Regions from separate parts of the Homo sapiens genome. Here region 2 is linked to region 1. Evidence: promoter capture Hi-C in human tissues and cell types (Jung and others, 2019). All regions are on one chromosome and are shown on one strand. Each heading gives the region's core, a stretch centred on a gene start or on the middle of the fragment in contact. The rest is flanking DNA. Distances are from core to core; before and after follow the strand shown.

Region 1 (6,286 bases), core at 1,052-3,551:
TCCATACAAACTTCTGATTGTTTAAAAAAATGAGACTTGCAGTATTTGGATGTGTATAATGTGAAATATGTTCACCAGAATGAAGTGCTAAATTAAAGTCTCATATTCAGATATAGGTCATGTGTTTTAAATATATGGAATAACTTAAGTTGTTGAAATTCAAACAATCTCACTTGTTCTCTCAAAATAACTACCACCTAGATTCAAAAAAATACATTTACACCTTCCTTCTTTCTTTGGCACCTGCTGACACAAATGCTTCTGAACACTAAAAACATTAATAGTAATCTTGGGGTAGAAAAATAGGAAAGAGATGCGGGGCCAGAATTAAGTTTTCAGTGAAATTATAAAGTATAATTATTCAAGACCATATATAAAAAATGTCCTTTGGAAAATGAAGTTTTTAGGCAAAAGTGTGGAAGAAATGTTTTCTATGAAGGAGATAACAGCCAATTTAACTCCCTTTTTAATAAAAGAAAATATTACACTGACAGGCACATGGTTGATTTGTATATTAATTGTTGGAAGCACGGCCTATTCCTTAACATGCTCAGGCACTGAATATCCTACAGTTTGTAGTCAGTTCACTTATGTCTGAACAAGTTGTTCACGTGCAGATTCTAGAAAGTTTATTTTTGAGCACAAACTAACACTTAGCTCGCTAGAACAATGTTGTTTCACATGCAGTTACTGGGTCAGGGTTAGGAACGAAAATCATGCCGTATATTTACAAATGAGGATGCTCCTCTCCCGGGGCCCTCACTTGGGGGAGCCCCGTCCCAGCGTCTAGCTCATCAAATTCCCGAAAGCAATTACAAAGGCATCTCTTCTCCACCCCAAAACAAAATAATGATCTACCAATCTTGCGAACACATTAAGACAAACTCCCTACAGGAAGGAGCATGACTTAAACAAGTTCAAGATACTTTGTCAGTCTTAACCTCAGGTATCTTGGCTGAAGGGATTAAATCATTAGACTTTACGTACCCAACCTCTTCCTAGCAATAGCAGATACATAATTTGCAAATACTGTTTCAGAGCTCTCTGGACCTTTCACGTTAAAATAAGCATACTTGATGGTGGGGAGACAGTGATTCTTACATTTAGGAAACAAATGCTTCCGATTGTGACCGTATGGAAGTGGAAAACAGCTTGCAATTGGAGAGTCTAAGAATTGAATTTCTTTTTAAAGTAAGAAACTGCCTCACTGCCCCCATCCCCAAGTGTAGGAAGATATAGAAACAGCTTACTGGCCAAGAATAGAAGAGGGAACCAGTGGAGAGGGACGGATTTGCAAGATAGCCTCTGGAGAAAAAAAAATCACGAGGGAGAAAAATCGGCTTCATACTATGGAGAGATGGGCGGGGTTGGGAAGCCTTGCTGCTGGTCTTGGGAAGCCTTGCTGCTGGTCTTGGGGACGTGATCCCCTGTCCCTAAGTGTGCCCCTGGAGGTTGTGGGGGAGGGGTATCCTCAACACAGAGGCCTGACCACCAAATCCCGGGCTGCAGAGCCAACAATCCTCCTTTGGGCTCCTGCACAGACTAAAAACAAAAAACTCTGAGAACTCCGACAAGTCAACGAAAGTCTGATCCCGTCAAGCCCGCACTCGCAAACCCCCACCGTGCTGCACTGGGCCCCGGCCCTCCCGAGCTCGGTCCCCTCGGACGACGGTCGTCGCCACTGCGGGCACCAGATTGGGGGGCGGGCCGCTCACCCCGCGGTCCTGCCCCACACCGACCCCGCTGAGGAGCCCCCGGCACCCGGGGCGACCAGGGAAGGCGGGAGGAGGTGCCCAGAAACTGCTCGTCCTGCCAGTCGCACCTGGCCGACGACTCTCTGGCCACTGGTTTGGTCTGGGGGATACGATTTCCCATTCAACTGAATTAGACCCGAGGCCGCGGCGGGGAGGGCAGCGGCCGGGGTCTCTCCGTTTCCTCCCCCGGCTCGCCTCCACCTGTTGCGGGAAAGTCGCGGTGGAGCGCCCGAGGGCGGCCGCAACCCCGGCCGGGGCCGAGCCGGGCTGGCCGAGCCGCGGCGGCGAAGGGCGGGGGAAGGCGCTCTCGGAGCAGGGTGCGCGGCGCGCAGGGCCGGTTGTTCCGGGCCGCGGCCGCGCGGGCGGGGAGGGGGCTGCCGGCGCCGGGTGATTTCGGTGCCAGCCCGCCGGCCCCGCTCGCCGTCCCCTGCCCGACGGGACCCCCACTATCCCCGCTGTGCGGTCACCTGTTTCGCTTCGCACTGCGCCGTCGCCGCCCCTGTGGCCGTCGCCGCCAGCTCCTAGCTCCGCCATGGTGCTCCGATGACGCGCCCGGAGAGCCGCTCCGCCCTTTCCTCGGCTTGGCTCCCGCCGGCCCCCGCCTCCCAGGCCAGCGGCCCAGACAGGTGAGCGCAGTCCGGGGATGGCGGAGGGCGGGGACAGAGAGCGCGGCAGTCGGCTGCGGCCTGGGCCTGGCGCGCCCCCTCGCGGGCAGGTGCGGCGTGGCAGCCGCTCCGACCGCCGCTGCCGAGTCTCGGCTGGAAGAGCGGCGGGCGGAACCAGTACCTCAGTCCGGAGCTTCCGGTCGCCGCGGCCGACCAGCTGAGGGCTCCCGGAGATATGGAGCGGGGTCAGCGAGGCCTGGTGGCGCCTCCTGGAGTCTGGGACGAGCGGCGGTCCGAGGAGCAGCCCAGGTGGGGCGAGGGTACGGAGACGCTATTTCCCTCCGAACTCTGAAGTAGCCAGGTCAGTGTCGGCTCCGCGAGGGCTGGAGTTCACGGTGACAGCCGGCAGAGCATCTGATGCCACGTGGAGAGGCGAAGTACATGGGTCGGATTCCACGCTGGGAGCCGGCCTGGATCTGCGCTTTAGGAAGCCACTGCGGGCGACCCTATCTTGTCGCCAGGACTTCGCATCTGATGAGCCTCAGGGCACACAAGTTAGAGAGGCTTGTGCCGGCTGATGTGGCTTTTCTTTTTCTTAGTTTCCGTTTAGTAAACGACCTTGTGACTTCTGGCTTGCTCAGGAAGACCAGAAAAAAAGGCAATAGGTAACGAATTTTTCTTTTTTTAAAGAAACAGATTATTGGCCGAGGAAAAACCAATTTCGCTCTAAAGGATAAGCAACAAAATACTGAGGGGGGAAAAAGCCTACACAAATGGAAACATACGGCACAAAATCAAGGAGCGACCAGTTCCGCATGGTTACACTAAAATGCACTGCACTCCCACTCTCTGGCTTGGCTGAAGATAACCAGCAAGCTCTGAACAGTTTAAAAGCCTTCCAAGGACTGCAGCAGCACTGGACACACAAGAGAGTCGAGAACAGTATTGGATTTATTGTTAGGGTTACAATTTTCACGATCTTTGCATGCAAAACTTGCCACTCTGAGCCCAGTGAACTATTTTTATTTGGTTTACTTACTGGCTTTCTGGATGACTAGGTAGAGCTTTAACTAAAGAACACTTCTGCTGTGGTCTGTGATGATGAATTTTCCCGTAGTGTCATTTCTATAATGGAATAGGCAAACTGACCATTTAGAATGTGATATTCCTAAATCACATTCAAATCAGTCTTATCAGAGACTTCTAATCAATAAAAATAAAGCACCAGATGGCTAGAGGTAGTTTTTGACCTCAGCTTGGGCCTCAGCAAAGATTTTTTGTGTTTTTTTTAACTACATTAAAACATCAGAGTTTAAGACACTTTTCTTTGAGCATCAGAAATACTCTCAGCTGAATTTAGAGTTGAACTATCCGGAAGAACCCTGGAGAAGGAGGGTGATTTATTTTCAACTTTCTGATTTACCACCGACTTAAATCAACCAATGAGTTCTTTCTTTGACCAAAAAAAAAAAAAAAAAAAAAAAAAAAAAAAAAAAAATTCAAGACTTGTGATGTTTCTATTTGTTTTGTTTTGTTTAGTTTGGTGTGTGCTTACTCATTGTCCCATTCTTTTGATAACCTGTATTTATCTGCCACAAGTTAAACAAAAATAAATGAAATAAGGAACACACCAAAATCCTGCACTTAGGCCCTGTATAGACAGTGTGTTCCAAACCTAAGGAGGTGTCTGCAACAGGGGAGGCTGCTGAGTGACTCTGCAGAGAACAGATGACATCTGTTAAATGTCAAACACCATCACGTCGTACTTCAAGTTGTACTTTACTTGGAACATGGAAGCCATCTGTCTGGAGCTCCCACATCCATTTCAAATCTTCAGGGTTCCCCATTCCAGGGGAGGAGCTGAACCTCCTGACACCGTCCACTTCCCTCCTGCCTCCTTCAAACATCATCCCTTTTTTCTCCCGAATCCCTAAATGTTTCTGCACCCAAGGGCTCTACCCCAATAAACACAGCTAAGACTCTTTGATTCTTAAAATGTCTTCCTTTAACGTCCCACCCTCCAGAATCTATTGTCGTATGTTTTGTTCACCAAAGGTAATAAAAATAAATGTGGATTTTGGTGCCGTTATTTTTCAAAAAAAGCTATATATTAATAGTTTTTCTTGCTTATGTATACAAATCAAATTACTTATTTTTAAATCCATCATTCCCCTAGAGTTTCTGCAGCACTTGATCCTCTAATCACCTTGCTCTTGGTCTACCATTGGCTTGGTTTTTCTCCTTCCTCTGTAGCAGTCCTTTCGTCTTTGTTGACTCAGATTCTTCCTCCCTTCTAATCCTCCAATATTTTTACCATCCCCTAATTGTAAACCACAGGCTTTTTATCTTTACTGTCTCTCACAGCCCTCATTTACTATTACTTCCATCCCGGATCCTGGTGACTCCCAACTCCAGAATATATACCCTTAACCTCACTCCTGACTTCCACTAATACATTCTGAATGGTCCCTGCACAATTCTATCAAGATACCCTGCTGTTAATTTAATATGTTCCAAACCACATTAATCTTGCAATATACAATCACTTTACACATACCTCTCCCTTGCTCAAAAACCTTTAATAGATTCCCCGTTCCTATATAAGTAAATATTAACTTCACCTCCTCACCATCACCACCACCACCCCCTAATTGGGCCCTGAGCTCTCTACTACCCATTTCCACTTTTCACCTCTGTAACTCATATTTCTAGCCCATGGAGTTGTTCATTCTCCAGAACACCTTCCAAATCCCTGCTTTCTAGTCTTTGTGCTTGAAGCTGCTCTGCCCGAAGTGATGTCCTTCATCCTGACGTATTTAATAATACTTTCCCTTTGAGGCCCAGGTTAAGGTCTACTTCCTCCATGAAGCCTGTTCTTCCTGCCCTGGCTCCCAGCATGCCTGTCCTTTGGACCTGGCCAGGGCTTGCTGGGCTTGATACTTGTCCAGCTGTTAAAATAGACTAGGCATGAGTTATTGCAAATTTGCCTTCTCAATCTGATGCACATTTTTGGTAGTAGGGTCTTTGTCCTCTACTTCTCTACAGGGTGTCCATAAAGTCTAGAACTATCAGTTATTTTATTTGTTCACGAGTTGCAGATGTTCTTGATGACATCATGTGCACTGCCTGCATTCTGAACTTGGTAGGCATGGTATATATCTTTTGTGTTGCTACCGTGCCTCACACACAGTGGGCATTCAAATGGGTTAATAATTCCTCAATGCCAAGCTTTTTTATGTGGTGGCCTAGGGATGAACGAAACCAAGTATCCAATGACAGAAGAAAGAGATCAAAATGCAGTTAAAAGGAAACATTAGATCTACTTCTCCCAGCAAATTCCTGTTTTGTTTCTTTTATAACACTGCCACCACCCCTGCATTAACTGTTCTGTTTCAAACCATCTTTCCAGGCTCAGCTCTGCACCTTCACTCCTCTGGAAAGCTTTCCTTGACCCCTTCTGACAGTAAATGTAACTATAGCACTGACTGCACCACTGTTGTTTCTGCTTTGTCTTGATTCCTTGACAAGAAACTTCAGGGGAAAGAACTGTATCTTGTTGGTGCACCACAATATGTAGTACCCAGTATTTAATAAATACTTTTGAATGAAGGATAAGTGATGGCAATAGCAAGCATATCTCAGTGTTTACTGTATGCTAAGCATTGTGCTGAGCACCTCTCCTGCATTGTCTTTTCCTTTTTGAGACAGAGTCTTGCTCTGTCGCCCAGGCTGGATTGCAATGGCGTGATCTCGGCTCACTGCAACATTCACCTCCTGGGTTCAAGCAATTCTCGTACCTCAGCCGCCCGAGTAGATGGGATTATAGGCGTGCGCCACCACGCCTGGCTAGTTTTTGTAATTTTAGTAGAGACAGGGTTTTGCTGTGTAGGCCAGGCTGATCTTGAACTCCTGGCCTCAAGTGATTCA
Region 2 (6,286 bases), core at 2,310-4,809, 1.0 Mb before region 1:
CTTTCTGAAATAATCTCCTCACAAGGAGGTGAAACATTGAGTGGCCAGCCTGGCCTTGCTGTTGCTTCTGTATATCCCAGCCTGTCACTCTTAGGAGCACGATGAAGATCTATAAGTATCTCTACTTTGGTCCAGCTACACCTCCCCTTGAGGAATATAGATTGGAAAGGGTACAGAATATGTTTCCTCATTGGTAATGTTAACCTTTTATTTCTTCTGAATAATTTAATATTTGATGTGAAAGGCTATTTTTTGAAGTATCACATAATGAAACAACAGCCCTGAACAATATAGACATTAGAAGCATTTTTTTCTTTTACCTTACTACATGCGTTACCAAGGAAACAAAAGAAATTGGAAAACAAAGAAAACCAAAGGAGATGTAGCAATATTGGGGGTTATAATAACTTTGTGAAAAAGTTTCTTGCAGAGGTAAGTTCAGTTAAGGCACCTAAAAGCATCTTGACAACTGATAACTCACACTGCATGGTGGATACAAAATGTCCAATGAAATTCCCAAGATTTTTTAAAGCAAATGGTGTCTGTTTCTCACCAAGGATGCAAATCCAAACTGTTATCCAAGTCTTGTTCATAGTGCTTTCTAAATATCTCCAGAATGCATTGATCTTTATTATTTCTTGATCTCTGTTGCGCTTTCTCAAGCCTTCACGACAGTGTATGTCTTCCCTGGATTACTGTGATGATCTCCTACTAGACTCCCTGCCCTCAATCATGCCTCTGTAATCTGTAGTGTGCATGGTTGTCAGCAACTCTGTTCATGGCCACCATACTTAAATTTTTAAATTTCTCATGTTTCAGAATAAGGAACCCTTTAACTTGACATATTAGGAAGACGCTTCATGACCTAATTCCTATGTAATCTTTCCAACATCATCTCTCACGGCTGTCCTGCCTTATACTAGATGTGTCAAATGATGCAATTACTTCATTTGTTTATCTACTTAGCAAATATTGACTAAGCATTCAACATTGTCAGGCACTGTTTAAGTGTTGCAATATAATGGTAATACTTTCAGTTTCTAGAATAAGTCCTGGGCCTTATCTCTTATCTCTGGGCCTGTGCATATGTTTTTCTCTCTCCCGGGAACTCTCCTCTTCCTTGAAAGTATAAATTCTGCTAAGTGCGCTACTGCCTTACTTCTGGTAAACCTTCTCTATTACCTAGGCTGAATTAGGTGACTTGCTGGGTCCCCTCAAAATACCCTTCTCTCTCATGCATTTATCATGCTACACCTTTCACTTCTCTGTCTGCTCCACTAGAGTATAAACTTCTTAAGGCAATATGCCTTTTTCATTTTTGTATTTCCAAGACTGTGCCTTGCATATTATAGATGTTATTTATGGGATATCCTCTGAAAAATCTCCAAGTGAGTCCTAAGATCCTAGACATTGCCTAGTAATAATTTTTCCTTCATGAGGTAGCAGATGGATCTAATCTATTTTTTATTTTATTATTATTATTATTATTATTTTGAGACAGAGTCTCGCTCTGTTGCCCAGGCTGGAGTGCAGTGGCACGATCTCCGCTCACTGCAAGCTCCGCCTCCCGGGTTCACGCCATTCTCCTGCCTCAGCCTCCCAAGTAGTTGGGACTACAGGCGCCTGCTACCACACCCGGCTAATTTTTTGTATTTTTAGTAAAGATGGGGTTTCACCATGTTAGCCAGGATGGTCTCGATCTCCTGACCTCATGATCCGCCCGCCTTGGACTCCCAAAGTGCTGGGATTACAAGCGTGAGCCACCGCGCCCGGTATTTTTTTATTGTTTTTAAAGTGACTTATGCAAAGGTGGCTATGCCTTTTTATAAAAGATTAGCACAAAGGGAGAATAATAACATTTGCAAATTATTTGCTTGAAGCTTTTATTTAGAAATCTGTTACATGTCCTTTTTTGATATATATATATATATATATATATATATATATATATATATCTCTATAGATCTGTAGCTAGATTAGGGAGAAATTTGGGCCTAAATTTGAACTTTTATACACCAATTAAAGCAAGTAGAATTTGTAATATATTTCACCACAGGCCACAATTTCTGCCCTGGAGAAGGGGTCAGATCGTGGTCTCCATCTAGGGGAGCAGTTACCTGATAGTCACATAAACTGCAGGTCAGGCCCCTCTGTGGTCTGCCCCTGTTCAGGTTGGATTTCCAAGAAAACAGGCTCTAAGGAGAAGGTTTGAATATGGAGATTTATTTAGGAAGGCTCTTGGGATCCATCCTTGGGGTGGGAGTGAACAGATGGGGATAGAGCGGAGTAAAAAAATACAGAATTGGGTGGAGGGAGAGAATGAATAACAACGCTGCCATAATAAACACCTCAACTAATCCTATGGGGAAGACTGGGGCTGGGATGACCCCAGCTTTGAGAGGCAAAGGGGGCTGTGCCTTTATGCTCCTGCACAGACCAGTCTCCCAACCCTACCCAACTGCAACTTGATGAATGAGGGCCCTTTCTTCAACTGTGGTCAATTCCCAAGAAGGGAATCAGATGAGTACTGGGGGAGTGCTATAGTTTGAGTGTACGTGTCCCTCCAAAATTCATATGTTGAAACCTAATCACCAAGGTGATGGTATTAGGAGGTGGGGACTCTGGGAGGTGATTAGGTCATGGGGGCTCCAGGTTTGTGAATGGAATTAATGCCCTTACACAAGAGACTTCAGAGATCTGCTTCCCCTTTCATCTCCTTCATCCCTTCCACCATATGGGGAAACAGAGTTCATCCAGTCCTCCATGTTAGGATGCAGCAACCAGGTATAATCTTGGAAGCAGAGACAGACCCTCACCAGACACAGTCTCCTGGGACCTTGATCTTGGACCTTCCAGCCTCTAAAACTGTAAGCAATAATTTTCTGTTATTTATAAATTACCCAGTGTAAAGTATTTTGTTGCAGTAGCAGGAATGGCCTAAGACATGTAGTGAGTGTTTCAGTTCTGAAACTGCAAGTAGAGATCCTGGTTGTGGACTCTAAGTTCCTAAACCTCCTCATCACTTATTGGGAAAGTCAGTTTTGGGGCTCAGGACCATTAGGAAAATTCAAGATTCCTGCCTCATTCAAATGGAGGGCTAAATGCAGGGTAGGAATAGCAAGAAGGTATTTTCTTTCAAGCCCATTTCCCTCTTCTTTCAGGCTGTTAAAACATGTTCACTTGTTCACCTGCTAGTGGCCATTGGCTCAGGGAAAGTGAATCAGATCCCTTGTTCAAGGGGATAAATTTAGTTACTCTTAGCCAATCATGGTGATTCTATTCTGCTTTTCAGAGACTGGTTTAACAAGAGTCATGTGATCTTTCTGGTCAATGAAAGATAAGGGGAAGCCAGCCTGGAGTTGCTTCAGAAAGGCTGCTCTTAAACAGAAACATATTTGAAGAAACAGTAACTTTATTCTGACTCTTTATGTGTGTGGCGGAGGAAGTGATGCCTAGAGCTACTACAGGCACTTAGGCCATGAGGAGAACCAGTGTAAGTCAGCAAGCCAAGATGCTAAAGACAGCAGAATAAGAAAATGGCAAGAATCTTGTCCTTGATGCTGTTGAGCTACTGAATTAACCAGGGCTGCAACTCCCTGTATTAGTAAGGATTCTCCAGAGGAACAGAACCAATAGAATGTATATATAAGTATATAATAAGGAATTAGCTCATGCAGTTACAGAGGCTGACAAATTCCAATATCTGCAGTTGGCAAGCTGGAGACTCAGGAGAACTGACGGTGTAGTCTAACGGCTAGCAGGCCCAAGAACCAGGAAAAGCTGATTAAAGTTCAAAGGCGGGAAAAAAAAACCCAATGTCCCAACTTGAAGGCATTTAGGCAGGAGGAATTCCCTCTTATTTATGAGACTGTCAGCCTTTTTGTTCTATTTAGGCTATCAATTGTTTTGATGAGGCCCACAACATTAGAAAGGGCAGTGTGCTTTGCTCAGTCTATCAATTTCAACGTTAAACTCATCCAGTATAATGTTTGATCAACTATCTGGGTATGCCATGGTTCAGTCAACTTGACACATAAAGTTAACCAATCGTCAAAACCCCCTACTTTTGGTTTCTTGATAAATAAAATAATATTTATCTTCTGTTTTAGTGGAATAAAGGTATGGAAAACGCTTTGATCAGTTTCTGTCTTTTGTTGATCTGGAATTGCAGTATCATTGTGATTAAAGAAACTAAAATACAGTGTAATTAGGGGATCACATCCAAATTTTGCAAACCCTTTGGTAATGTTTAGAATATATTTGATTAATTCATTTTCAATTCAACAAACACCTGTTAAATACTAACTATATGTCAGCTAGGTACATGTTATATGTCAATGAAAAAAAAAAGAAAAAATTCCCCTTGTGGGGCTGACATCTAGCATATAAACAAATGGTCAATTTTAATATAGTTTTGGGTTTATTTAAGCTTATTACAGAATAAAAAAATAGTGCCCCAAACTGACCACTCTTGCATAGCCATGCCCAGCAGCCAATACTACATAATGTCAACCTACAACACAGCACCATCAAGTTGTTACTCAAATGAGACCTAGGCTTGACGGGATGTTAGGAGGTCCATTTCTATCAATCAGAGTCTGGAGTTCATCCATCGCCCTAAGCCTGCTATTGAGGGAGCCCTATGTAAACATTTATGTGGCCACCAATAAATAGTAAGCCCCTCAATCCCAACCCTAACCTCACTGTGTTTCTAGATTCTTGCCTCTGTTCTTTGTTTGCACTTTATTCTTTGCTGGTAACGGATTCTAGCCCTGAACTCCAGCCAAATTGTCTGGGCCTACGAATTGACTAGTCTTGCCAACCTCTTCTCTCTGGGGGATCTGGATCCTATCCCAATTTTCTCCCCTCTGCAGCCCACTGGCTAAGGCCCTATTACAACCCAGACAACCTCTCCCATTCCGAACATAAAACTGTCATCTGTTGGATAATAACATTTCCCACATAACCAGTTCCTGGTGCCATGCTCCCACCTGGCTTGAGATGGTGACTGTCACCATTAATCTGGTTTGGATTCAGGTTTGGTATGTCCTGTTAGATGCTGAGACTTGGGGGAGCTTATAGTCATATACCTCAGACCTCCCCTATCCCCACCAGTCTTGGCTTACTTCTCTCTCTCCTACAGATCTACAGCTGGGGTTCTCTTCTGGCTCTCCTGCCAAGGCCAATCAGATCGCAATACAAAAAAGTAACACTTTCCAGCATTCTGTAGAGTCTGATTTTCTAAACAGTTCTTTAGATTTTAATGCATCTCAATAATAGTTATAAGTAACATTTTATTTTTTTCTGTGGCAGATTAGGCCTCCTGCAAAATAGTCATTTTCAAAAATTGTCTAAGATTCAGATGCCGCACCCAATGTTTATGCTTTTTGCAGCAATATGGTCCTAATTCAACATCATGCAGCGTGCAAATCAGTGTTTCTTCTAACTTCAACAGTGATAAATATTTATTAAGCCTCCACTATGTTCATGGAACTATACCAGGTGCTGCTATAACTATTTTTCCTTTCCAGGAAAAATAAATTCAAATATGGAATAAAAAGCCCAAACTCATGAAACTGGACTGACTTTGCTTCTTAAAAATTCAACATGCTGCAGCTGCATGCTTAAACCTGGTTCAAACAGGATGATGAAATAAAACATTATTATTGTGGGAATATAACACTGTCTAAATAAATAGCCAACATGAAAACTGTCTCTAAAACCCATAGCATCTGTATGTGCAGACTGTAAGTAAGTTATATAATTCCTCCACTATTCTGTAACATGGCCAATTCAGAATGTCTTACCATTAATCTTGAAGACATTTAAAGATGTTCACTTTTCTAACTCTTCCCTTTGAAAATATATTTGAACCTTATTTGCAATAAAAATCTCATAATATTGTATTACTTTTTGATGTGTCATTTCTGTTAAATGGTGCCTGGAATAAATCAGCTTTGACTTTTCAGATTACATGTGTTGTTCCAGAGTTTTAGTAGTTACAACATACATTTACATTTTCTAATGTCCTCACTATAATGAAGATAAACACAGGGGTAATTTTTCTCATGTCATGTGTATATAGGATAAGATTACCAGGCCAACAGTGTCACTATCAGATTTCTTTCAGAAAGTGTTTAATGTTGAATTTTAATCACATGCTTGAACAACTAGGACTTTTTGGGTTTTATTTTTCAAATATGTGTTAGTAAGAAAACAGACTGAAATGTGGAATGTACCAGATAAATCTCTTTGGTGATTTTACATATCTGTATGATCATGTTTG

Evidence for each region. The method cuts DNA at HindIII sites, captures the fragments that hold promoters and counts their contacts. A contact is called where the count stands out against the background at its distance.
Region 2: a fragment that was not itself captured here is called in contact with the fragment with the promoter of MAP7 in region 1 in 1 of the 25 tissues and cell types used here (ovary).

The regions. Positions count from the first base shown.
Region 1 is chr6:136,548,121-136,554,406 of GRCh38, forward strand. MAP7 (microtubule associated protein 7) reads right to left here and starts at 2,302. Exons shown (of 18, transcript NM_003980.6): 1 at 2,222-2,302. The coding sequence starts at 2,288. MAP7-AS1 (MAP7 antisense RNA 1) reads right to left here and starts at 4,385. Exons shown (of 1, transcript NR_186370.1): 1 at 2,603-4,385. RefSeq lists enhancers at 1,138-1,676, 2,215-2,752 and silencers at 1,974-2,023, 2,034-2,213, 2,254-2,603. The HindIII fragment of the contact is 8,644 bases long and covers 1-6,203 here.
Region 2 is chr6:135,522,446-135,528,731 of GRCh38, forward strand. The region is part of intron 2 of AHI1-DT (AHI1 divergent transcript); the gene reads left to right. Among named protein-coding and RNA genes, the nearest start is that of AHI1-DT, 28 kb to the left of the region's middle. The HindIII fragment of the contact is 5,270 bases long and covers 925-6,194 here.